3 separate regions of the Homo sapiens genome follow, and regions 1 and 2 are each linked to region 3. Evidence: promoter capture Hi-C in 16 types of primary human blood cells and fetal thymus (Javierre and others, 2016). All regions are on one chromosome and are shown on one strand. Each heading gives the region's core, a stretch centred on a gene start or on the middle of the fragment in contact. The rest is flanking DNA. Distances are from core to core; before and after follow the strand shown. Region 1 overlaps SYNE1 (spectrin repeat containing nuclear envelope protein 1). Region 2 overlaps SYNE1 (spectrin repeat containing nuclear envelope protein 1). Region 3 holds the start of FBXO5 (F-box protein 5).

Region 1 (3,494 bases), core at 16-2,515, 830 kb before region 3:
ACTTGGCAGAAACTTTCTGTGGAAGGATGTAAATGTTGATTCGCCTGTGAGATGACAGGAGAGAGGAATCAGGGGAGAGGGTGAGGCAGAATAGCAGGGTTTACTGTTTCTTCCATCCTGAGAATCCATGTCTACGGGCAAGTTCCTTGTTTTATCATAACAACCCAAAGGTTATGGGCGTCATGACCATTCTTTAAAAAAATCCATCTATCTTGGGAGGAAAATTTCATAAGCTTCCTTGGAAAACACTCAATTTGTTAAATACTCCCACTTTTAGGAAATCCTTACATCTAATGTATATCCCTCCTATTCGAATTTCTAGCTAGCCACTGTGTTTGAATTATATAGTGAAAAATACAAAATGTGTTTAAAATTAACTTGGCATCTAAGAATGCAGACTATGAGGAATGAAATCCCGACATAGGAAAGTTGTATTGCTTTGCAACATGGAGGTTAAAGGAACCATGTGAAGGTGCTACAAACACATTAGAAAAAATAAACGAAAACAACAACAACAAGGCCAGGAAGGGTGGCTCACACCTGTAATCCCAGCACTTTGGGAGGCCAAAGCAGCTGGATCACTTGAGGTTAGGAGTTCGAGACCAGCCTGGCCAGCATAGTGAAACCCCATCTTTACTAAAAAAATACAAAAATACAAAAATTTGCCGGACTTGGTGGTATGTGCCTGTAATCTCAGCTCCTTGGCAGGCTGAGGCAGGAGAATTGCTTGAACCAGGGAAGTGGAGGTTGCAGTGAGCCAAGATTGCGCCACTGCACTTCAGCCTGGGCGACAGAGTGAGACTCTCTCTAAAAAAAAAAAAAACAAAACAACAACAGCAGAACATCCCTAACACCCTGGCAATCAAGCTGATTGAAAATCAATCAAGCTGTTGAAAAATATCAACAACAATATCGATATCAAATAAGATAAGAGCACTACCCAGATATAAGCAATAGTGGTTATTTCTGGGTAGTGCTCTTTATCTGATTTTTTATATATTTTACATTTTCTGAATTTTTTTGCAGTCCAGAACTAATTTTTCAAAAGAAAAGTTATTTGCTATGTTCTTCACAAAAGAGCCACAAATCCTTTCATTTTCAGGCTTTCTTCACTTTGGTAACTTGAAAAATAATCTATTACCTTGAGTTGCTTTATTTTAGCTTGAACATCACACTCAGAAAAATGTTCAATATTAGTGAGCTGCAGATCCATCTCTGTGAGCCAGACCAGAATGCTGTCCCGCGCAGTCTCAAACTCCTCACGCTGGCCAATAAAATGCTGGAAGGCAAGAGGAAAGTAGTAACAATTATTTTTATTAAAAGTCCTTCTAAACATATGGAGATGGCACAGCGAATTCCAGTGTTCTGTAAAGTCATTTTCTCAGCAAGCAATGAGAAGCCTGCAATCCTTTGCTATATCACTCCCCGGTTTACTCCTCCTGCCATCCCATTCTTACAAAATCACTGAGACTGTGTCTCAAGACTGCATTCAAATGGCCCAGTCCCATCCTCTGGCCTCTAAATTACAGATGAGGCATAGCAAAAACCTTGAGTCTGCGCAAGATGGAGGTGACACGCTTTTGCAGGTTGTCCCATCTCTGGTTGCCTTCGTGAACCATCTGTTTGAGGCTACATGCTGAATCAGTGCGGTTCTCCCTGGCCAGGCGGCGGTACTGCTTGTTGATCAGTTCCAGCTGCGTCAGGCACTCGTGGACCTGTCGCTGGAAAGCCTAAGGCCACAGAGAAGCATATCAGTGTGAGAAATCAGCGAAGGACTCTCAGTAGTGGCTCCTGGTTTTCTTATTGTAGCGTCTGGGAGAATGGGAAGTTACACTATCACAGAGGGAAAGAATGATGTCTAATAACGGTACACTTCCCCTTGTTAATGCAAAGTCATCTAGTCAGCGTAACTTAAAGGAAAGGGAGAATCTATCAAAAAATATGAAAATGGGGAGTAGTAATGAATAAACACACACGCATCCAACACACATATATAGACACACACACATACATACACACACATATACACGTAGCTTTAAAAATAATTAATGTCCTGGAAACAAATATTCCCACAAAGCAAACCACTATAAAAAATATACACGTGTGTGTGGAAATGTGAGTTTGAAATGTTGACAACTTCTGCTGTCAATATGGAGAAAAAGATATCTATAATGGAACTGTTTATTTGTAAAATATGTACTTTTCTAAAAATCTAGAAATTACCTCAATTCTGCTGTCCATTAGGAAAAAACTTAAAACTACCTTTTGCAAAAGGTCTTCCAAAAAATCAAGCTATTATAAGCTTTTAAGAAAAGTAATTTAGTAAAATACAAGTAACTTTATATTTTAAAAAATTTGGAACATGCTCTGTTTCTTTTTTGTTGTTCCTGTGATTTAATTAGTTTTTATAAAACATGTTAGAGCTAGTGTACCACCCACACAGTAGCATCAATTTACTTTTGAGGCTATCCCAGGGTCAGTTTAGAGATTCTGAAGGTAAAATATTCTTTTCTGCCTTTTCCCTCCAATGTAGAAGAGCCCTATAGCATAAGAGTCATTTGGCCAAAATAAAATGAAGCTTTAAAAAAAATCATTTGTATGATTTATGACTGATTTTTATCTTGGCATTAGACCAAAATGAAAACTATAATTAATAAATTGAACCGCACTCATCAAATCCCCAAATTCTGTTTTCCTTGGCTCATCACACTGTTTACATGTGACCACATTTCTGTCTCTTAAATTGCTTTCCTTGTGAGAGCTGCTTTCAGAGCCTTCATCCTAGGAAATCCTAGCTTCCAGTCTAAAAACCTTAAGTTATTTCTCCAGCAAAGGGAGTGGTAAGGAAAGTTCAGCTCTGGCCATGACTGGAAGTCCCAGTACATGTTTGCCCACTGGGGTAAGGTTGGAGTACCCCCAGGCAGATACCCCAGCACACCCATGTCCATCCCAAACGTTCATGCGATTGGACCAGCTAAAGACTGCCCCCAAGCACAACTTCGTTTCTGCAATTCATTTCTGTCTCTTAAGAAAATTAACTACAAAATTCATGATAAATAATAAAATCAATCATTATAGAAGCTAACTATAAGGCTAACTTTTGCTTTAAAATCTGAGAGTCTAAAATAGCATCAAAAAGAATCTTATATAATCTGCTTTGCAGTATAAGCCAATTATAAAAGGTTTTAACCTTTATGAAGGGAGTGTGTAAGATGCAGTTGAGCAGCTCTCCACTAGCATTCATTCACATCGAGATGACCTGGAATCTACTGCAGAGTTTACTGTGCTTTTTACTAGTAGTTTTCTAAGGGAGTATCTTTTATATAGGAATAAAAGTGTTGTTTATTTTAATTTAGTGGTATAGTTACATATGAATTCATTCACCATTCAGACATCAGAGTAATTCATCCATTTCAAAGTATTTGAACATTTTTCTAGATTCATATAGCTGTCCATGTACAACCCTGAGATTTTAAACTCCATAAGAATAAAAA
Region 2 (3,809 bases), core at 1,243-3,742, 690 kb before region 3:
GTATTTCATAAGACAATCGCTAAGGTTACTGGTGTCTGGTGGGCATAAACTAGTCCACCTTGAAGACTTACCACATTCTTTAAGGTTTCCCAAGAACGCTGCAAATCACCCAGTTTGGCAGTAGCGGATGGCTCCAATCCCGGTTCATAGAACTCCTGGGATGCGGATGTGCTGGGGTGAATTTTTGCAGCATCTGTCTGCAACCTCTCAGCAGACAAGGCTTGGTAATATGCAATGTCCTGTGAGTGCAAAGCACAGTATTGAATTAAACAAAAAGACAAAGTCTAGATTAATATGCTCTGGGTACTGTTGGTCATGTCAAGGAAAGGTTTCAGATCTACACCTTTCATGGGGCACTACAAACTAGTAAATTAGTAAACTCTTGTGACAAGAAAAATGTAAAGACTGTATCAAAGCACACTGTAATTGTTTCAGAATTTTGGTTTATATATATCAAAAAACAACTTTACCAATATTTCAAGTTGCCAAAACTCAATCTTATTCTATGTTTGTTAAATGGAAATACAAAGGATTTAAGCAGTACACATGTATTTAAAGGTTGATTAGAATAGCAAAAAAAGAGAATCTTAATGATCTAGTTCCTAAAATGTTGTCGAATGTATTCATTAAAGTTTTAAATAATTTAAAAACTACTTGACTTAAATAAAATTAAATCTACAGATGCAGCCAGATCTTCACTATCTGTGGGTTCATCATTTGCTGAATTAATTTAAATATTTTGATATTAAATAAGAAAAATGTAATGGGGAAGTTACCACTACTCTAAGAAACAAATAATATAAAGGTTTTCTATGCATTTCCTAAAAGTATACACACAAAAAAAACAAAGTGAATGATGAAATATCATGCTTTCAAATTTTTTAAACCTATTATAACATTACATATTTTATTTGTACTGATAAAATTTACTATATCAAGAGATATAGTAAAGATATATCAAGAGATATAGTAAAGATGGTTTTTAACTGTTTCTATGGTTATTTATCTGTATTTCAGTAGAAATTTAATTGGGGGAGTAATTGCTATTATAAAGTTCATTGCTTTTGCAGTTGTACTGTTGAAGGGAATTATGTCAGCTTAAAATACCTGAGTCTTATTGAGAATCATGTATTGGTAAAAAGTATTGAAGAAGGCTCCAGCCGTCTGAGAAACAAATGTAGCAGTGTCATGCGGTAGAATGAATTCAGACTGGGACAGCTGAGATTCTAGCGAAATTCTCCTCTTGTGTAGCTATATAATTGGAGCAAATAACTTATATCTTGCACACTGGTTCACTCATTGGTCCAATCTTGGGTGGGATTGAGGATTATATGAAATAATATTTGAGTGACTATGACAGCTTCTACCCATTTTGTTGTTGTTCCTGAGGTCTCCAGATGAGTCCCCAACATTTATTGATGATATTGGAACATGGAGACTGCTTCCTCTTTATTCCTAACCCTGTCACTGTCTTGAGTGGATTACTCTTCATGTCCTTAATAGCTTTAGATCCATTGATCCTCACTCACTCCCACCCCACTTCAGTCCTCCACACCCTTGTATGCTGTCATCGCTCAGCTGGACTTGTAGTTATGTCTGAAGTTACTTAAACCCCTTTCTTGCCAAGACTCTTGTTTCTCTTGCTCTTTTAACCTTTACTTCATCCACTTGGAAACCCGCAAACATGACTCAATCCAGAGTCATTTATGCATGTGTGTGTGTTACTGACACACACACACACACATACACACACAAACACGCACACACACACATACACATGCAATCCAAGCTGTCAAGGAGATACTGCAACTTCTCAAATTTTCAAAAGTCTATGTATATTCACACTCACCCTTATCTTATGCTTTCCAGTTTCACTGCTTAAACCTGACTCTCCCACAGACTCTGAGAATCCCATAAACTGCTTTTTCAAGGATCTTGGTCTATTAACATCCTCTCTGGCTTTGTTGACTTTCTCTCTTCCATCCAAAAACACCTGCACGCACTGTTTCTTTTATTTGTTTTCTTGAAGGATATCACATTTTCTAAAAAGTCCACAGTTCACAATGTGACGGATCGTCACACGTGAATGCACTTGCACACACAGGCTCCATCCTAATTTCTTTGTTTTCTCCCTTTCATTTCATAATCCAACTTCTGAAAGGGTGATTTTCATGGGACTTTCTCACCCTCGATCCACTTCTAAATTCCAGTTTGGACTTTGATCCTGATGACTGCAGAGCTTGCTCTCACCAGCTTCTTCTCTTTGACAAAAAATGATGAATTTTCATCCCTTCCCTTGCCAGACCTCTAGCATTCAATAGCACTGACAAACCCTTTCCGGAAACACTTTCTAAAAAATCTCTCTGTTCTCCTCCCAGCTTTCTAGTCATTCACTCTTTCTCTTTTATAGTTTGTTTTCCACTCACTCGCCAATATTGGTGAATTGATAAGCTCCAGACTCACATATCCAGATGTTCATGCATATCCTGTAGGCTCTTCAAAGTCAACATTTCCAAAAGGAACCAATTTAGGAAAAAACAATGAAGTATTATCCATCTTGCAATAAATGGAATGTCTTCTCACCTAAGCTATAAACTTGGGATTTATTCCTGATTTCTCCTCCCCCTTAACATCCACTGCTTATGGGAGGATGGAGTGCTAACGATGCATATCCTGGCCACAGCCTTGGTTCAAGTTCTCATTACAGTAACAGCTTCCTAACTCAAAGGTTGCAAACTGGCAGCCTGTGGGCTGCCTCTGACCTGCACATATTTAGTGTGGCTTATACAATGTTTTAAATTGTTTAAAATCTCTCTTCATGAAGATAGAGAGATTTCATTAAAATTCACATTCGTAGCTTGTTTTGCAAACCACAAGGTATGGTAACACTGGGCCCTGTGTCTTTGTTAAAGTAATGCTAACAGAGGAGACATTGCCTCATTTATGTGGAGCAGGAGCTGTCCAGGCCTCTGTAGTCCCTCCTGGCCTCTGTAGTCCCTCCTGGCCTGTTTCTCTCATTTTTATCACCAGGGTGGACCAAGCATGAGACTGTGTAACTTCTGTTTCTAACAGCTCCCCTGGCTCTGAATTTGCACACTTCTATTCTCCTGTCCACATTGATCCAGAAGTATCAGTTCTGTACACAGCTTCTCATTAAATTCCCTCAGTGGTTAAATATTAGCTTCTGGAGGAAGCTGAAATTCCTTCCTGTGGCATTCAGGGCCTCCATGATGTGGTTCCCATATCCCTCTCAGTCTCATTTCCCCCTCTCCTCCTCCTCCAATGTTTCTCCAATTACACTGAAACTATTTGCAGTTGCCTGGATGGGCCATTTTGCTTCCCGCCTCCACAGCTTCCAACAGGTGGTTTCTTCTGCCTGAAAATCTTCATCTCACACGACCCAACTGCACTCCAACTGCCTAACTGTGCTCCTCCCTTAAAACTAAAGGGGGCCATCCTTGACCTCTGCCTGACTCCAGCCAGTTTAGGTGCCTTCTCTAGGCCCTCCCACAACACTGTACTGCCCTCGGCCACACTACCTGCCACCTTCTCTTGTAAGCATTTGCCTGTCCTCACACACACTGTAAGCTCCCTAAGGGCTGTCTGGGTCACTGCTTTTCGTCTTCATCCTGAGCACATTGTGGAGTGTTTGGCAAATAACAGGCAGGCCTATATGTTCATAATAAATCATGCTTGTAAATGCACTTATATAAATTCTATTATTTTATATACATGTAAAGTAATACTATTACTGTCCATAAGGAAAAGCAGGAATGCCTTTAAATGGTGTAAACATTTTACATTAGATA
Region 3 (3,775 bases), core at 1,040-3,539:
GAAGAAAAGGAGAGTAAAAAAACACCCTGGGGTTTAAGTCTTGAGTATCGAAGGTATACAGTGCTATTTACTGAGTATGGAAAACTGAAGAAGTTAACTCTTAAAACCTCACTTTCCTCATCCATAAAATGGGAGTAAGACAATGAAACAGGACTAAATGCAAGGCAAAGTCCCTATCACAAGGGTCTAGTCAATACAATCTATTTTTAATCACATAAGCCAAATCCCTTCATATTCCTTACATTGACAATCATTAACATTTGAAAGTAGTAAAACACATTTCACAAAGAAGTATATATTTCAGAGTAACACATACTTTTCCATTAGAATGTATAGATTTAAGAATCAGATCCAAGTTTGAATGAAAATCCTTGCTTAGCCTTTTGACTAGCTTTGTGAACTTGGAATGTCCTATTCCTATTTTTCCCCCAAGTGCAGACACTAATAAGACTCATACATGGCATTGTTTAAACTTCTCATTTACCAACTCCCAGCCCAGTCATATAGAGAAAAGTAAATTTTACAATGTTTGATCTTACATTTAACTTTTCAATATAGACCTGATCCTCCATATCAAATATCATAAATAAGGCTGCAGTCCTTAAAAATCTTTGTAACTCTTCTGTTAAATAATTAAGTTCCAGTCTCTAATACCTACAGATAACGACCATGTGGTCAACGTTAGGCATGGCTATTCCTTAAGAATTTAAGAGGCCCAATGCTTGTGACCATAAAGTAATCTTTAAGAGAAAATTTTACAAAAGCCTCCTTTGAAAACTACTTGGAAGTAACATATATGTATTTTTAATTTCATCTCCTCAAACCTGTAAACTGGGGAAAAAATTCCAACAGGCAGTCATTTCTTTCTGAGGAGCAAGGTAGTAAAGACAATTAGAGTTATCAAAAAAGAAAAAAAAAAAACCCTCATAAGGCCATCAAGCTTCAGAATTTCGATGGTAGACTGACGATCCAGGATCTTCTAGAAATATATTTAATCTATTAAAATTAAAATTAAGTATTTTTTTCTAGAGTTCTTTTTTAATAATAGAGTCATTACAAAATAGTACAATGCCGAATTGCTAAATTTTTTCATTTTGGGTTATTTCTCAGGTAAAAATAAGTGCATATAGATTTTATTTAGAGGTAGCAACAAAGAGGATAAAAATAAGCATTTGAGTGCATTCCATTCTCTGCAAGCTTTGAAATAAAGGACTATCTAATTCTTCATGAGTTATCGGGAAAAAGTCACCAATTCTTCGATTCTTACAAAATCATCTTAATACTATGGACAAATTCAAGGTTCGTAGTAAAAATTGCTTTTTTTAAAGTCTTCCCTTTCCACTCCAGGCCCTGAGACTGGGTTAACGGGCAAAGGGAGAAAAAATTGGGAAAAAGTAACGTTTTTGTTTGGATGTCCCAGTTGAGTTTGGTCCAATGAGTTGGGGGGGTGTCTCTCCATTTGGCGGGAGTGGGGAGGGAGACCCTGGAACTCCTGAGGGATCGGTGGGGCTGCCCCTCAGGGCGCGGGACACGCGGAGGAGGCGGGAGATAACCGCGAGCGCGATCTCCCGCGCCCGCCAGCAAGGCTGGGACCGCGAAAAATCGGGGAAACTGCCTTTGGCTGTGAGGGTGCGGGGCAGATGTAGAAAAGGGGCGCAGGGGGAGAAGGTGAGGCACCTGGCCAGGCCCTGGGGGCTTCTCGCTCGCAGCCCTGTCACCGCCGGGGGCCCCGGGGTGGGGGAGGGGAGGGGCATTTGGCGCCTATTCAAGCAGGGTGGGGTAGGTGGGTCTTCCGAGGAGGAAAAAGGGCGCCCTGGGATGCCACGACCCGCACCTCCCGGGGCTGGAGTCCACGGTCGGCGTGGGTGGCGGGACCCCGCGGCCCGCCATCCCGCCCCTGCACATCTGGCTCTTCTGGCTTCCCCCCGACACCCAGCCGCCCTCCTCCCGGACCCAGGAACCGCTGCCGCCGCCCGAGGCCGGGCGTGTGGCATGGCCGCGCGTCCAGGCTCCGAGGGACGTCGGGTCAGGGTCTCAGGCTGCGACCCTCCCCGTGCACCCCTCCTGGCGTGCGCGCCCCCCTCGCGACCGCTCCCCTCACTCACTATCCGAGGGTCGAGGGCGCCCGGCGGCTGTCACTGCGCTGGGGCTGGCGCTGCAGGAGCAGCGGGGTGGCCGTAGGGCGCAGCTGCAGGGGCGCCGGCTCATGCCAGCCGACGTGGAGTCTGCCTCAGGTGGAGGAACCGCTCCGGGGGCAGCTGAGCAACCTGCCTGCTTCACAGACCTGTATCTCTTAAAAGGCGCCAGCTGGTACTTTTAAAATCTTTGAATTTGGTGCCTAAATCCGCGCGGTCCAATGAGACGCGTCGCTTGCATGCGCGCACCAATAGGAGGGCAGTGGGTGGGGGCGCCCTCGTCCGCGCCCAATTGGAGGCTGCCGAGGCGGGGCCGAGCCGCGAAGCCCAGCCCCCTTCCAGCTTACCGGCTCCCCACGTCCGGAAAGATGCTACGGCCGGGGGCGGGACCTCCGAGCACGGGGAGGCCGCGGCCCGGCCACACGTGTGGAGGGTCTATCACGCATGCGTGCGCCCGCCAAGATTCCTTCCGCCGTCTTCTGGACCGGCCTCCTGCAAGTCCTAATCTCAGCCCAAATTCAGCGCTGGCTTCCATCTGGAGATCTTTGATGGGTACAAATGGTAGCCGACTTTCTTCGATCATCTCTCGAACGGGAGTTCGGTGAGCAGCAACTCGGCTCGTCCGGGAATCCAGACTTTCCGGAAGACGGACCCTCCCCCCAGTCCAGCTTAGCCCGCCTCTCTAGGATTTACGCGCGCGCTCTGCTCTCCCTCCTAACTCGACCCTCCCCTTGACCCACGCCTCTGCGCAGGCGCCTTGGCGGGCTGTGGCTGCGGAGTTGGCGGGTCGGCGCCTGCGCACTGGAGTCCCCCGCGATTTTTTCCTCCGGGGTGGGCGAGGAGGCTGTGCGGCCTTCCCCAGCGGCTGTAGCAGGAGACCTGCGGCTGCATCTCCCAGGGCCTTCCGGCGGGGCCGAGGGTAGGACCGAGGCACTTCTTCCTTGCAAGCGCGTTTATTTGTATTTTCAACCACACTTCAGACGCTACTGGTTTATAGGAACGTTAAGTTTACTGAGTGTGCAGCTACGCTCCCCTGGGTTTTTGTTCCTTTCCTTAAAGGGCCAGGTGTAGGAGACAGTAGTCCTGCTCCCAAAAAAAGAATAAATAGAAGTGCCCGCCCTCTTGGGCTGGACCCCCGTGGCCAAGGGAGTTTTTAGTGATGGCTGGCATGGACGTCAGTATGAAAGTGTACCGGAGTATTAGTGATGCTTAACTTTTCACAATTTGAATATGCACTTAAGTAGGGCAGTGCATTCCCTGAACTCAGCTTTATGGCTACAGCCCAGTGAAGCAACGGGATGTGAACTCCAAAACGGCGAATCCTCCTTTGCTGTTTCCCTCTGGTGCCTTTCTGCAGCCTCGGAGTGAGTTCTTGGCTGTAGTCAGTTTTCAGTACCGTTAGTGACGAGTCCGGTGGGGCGCGGCCAGGATTAGGATGAATCATACAAGTGCTGGGTGGATCCTGTCTTTACCTAAAATTTTGATAATTAGTTGTGGGGCGCGGCCAGGATTAGGATGAATCATACAAGTGCTGGGTGGATCCTGTCTTTACCTAAAATTTTGATAATTAGTTCATCATGGGTTTTTTGCCTTTTTCATTTTTAAAAATGTTAAAATAGTGTCACTCTTGATGACTTAAA

What was found. Contacts are between HindIII fragments. The CHiCAGO score rates a contact against its expected background, and 5 or more counts as called.
Region 1: a contact is called between a fragment that was not itself captured here and the fragment with the promoter of FBXO5 in region 3, in 1 of 17 cell types (total B cells). The highest score is 5.8, in total B cells.
Region 2: a contact is called between a fragment that was not itself captured here and the fragment with the promoter of FBXO5 in region 3, in 1 of 17 cell types (naive CD8 T cells). The highest score is 5.7, in naive CD8 T cells.

Annotation. Positions count from the first base shown.
Region 1 is chr6:152,150,412-152,153,905 of GRCh38, forward strand. It overlaps SYNE1 (spectrin repeat containing nuclear envelope protein 1), which reads right to left. Exons shown (of 146, transcript NM_182961.4): 134 at 1,548-1,730; 135 at 1,142-1,279. Among named protein-coding and RNA genes, the nearest start is that of SYNE1-AS1, 230 kb to the right of the region's middle. The HindIII fragment of the contact is 2,069 bases long and covers 232-2,300 here.
Region 2 is chr6:152,293,889-152,297,697 of GRCh38, forward strand. It overlaps SYNE1 (spectrin repeat containing nuclear envelope protein 1), which reads right to left. Exons shown (of 146, transcript NM_182961.4): 94 at 72-239. Among named protein-coding and RNA genes, the nearest start is that of SYNE1-AS1, 85 kb to the right of the region's middle. The HindIII fragment of the contact is 5,328 bases long and covers 1-3,809 here.
Region 3 is chr6:152,980,752-152,984,526 of GRCh38, forward strand. FBXO5 (F-box protein 5) reads right to left here and starts at 2,290. Exons shown (of 5, transcript NM_012177.5): 1 at 2,106-2,290. The coding sequence starts at 2,208. RefSeq lists silencers at 1,724-1,793, 2,274-2,593 and enhancers at 2,624-2,843, 3,134-3,253. The HindIII fragment of the contact is 9,521 bases long and covers 1,196-3,775 here.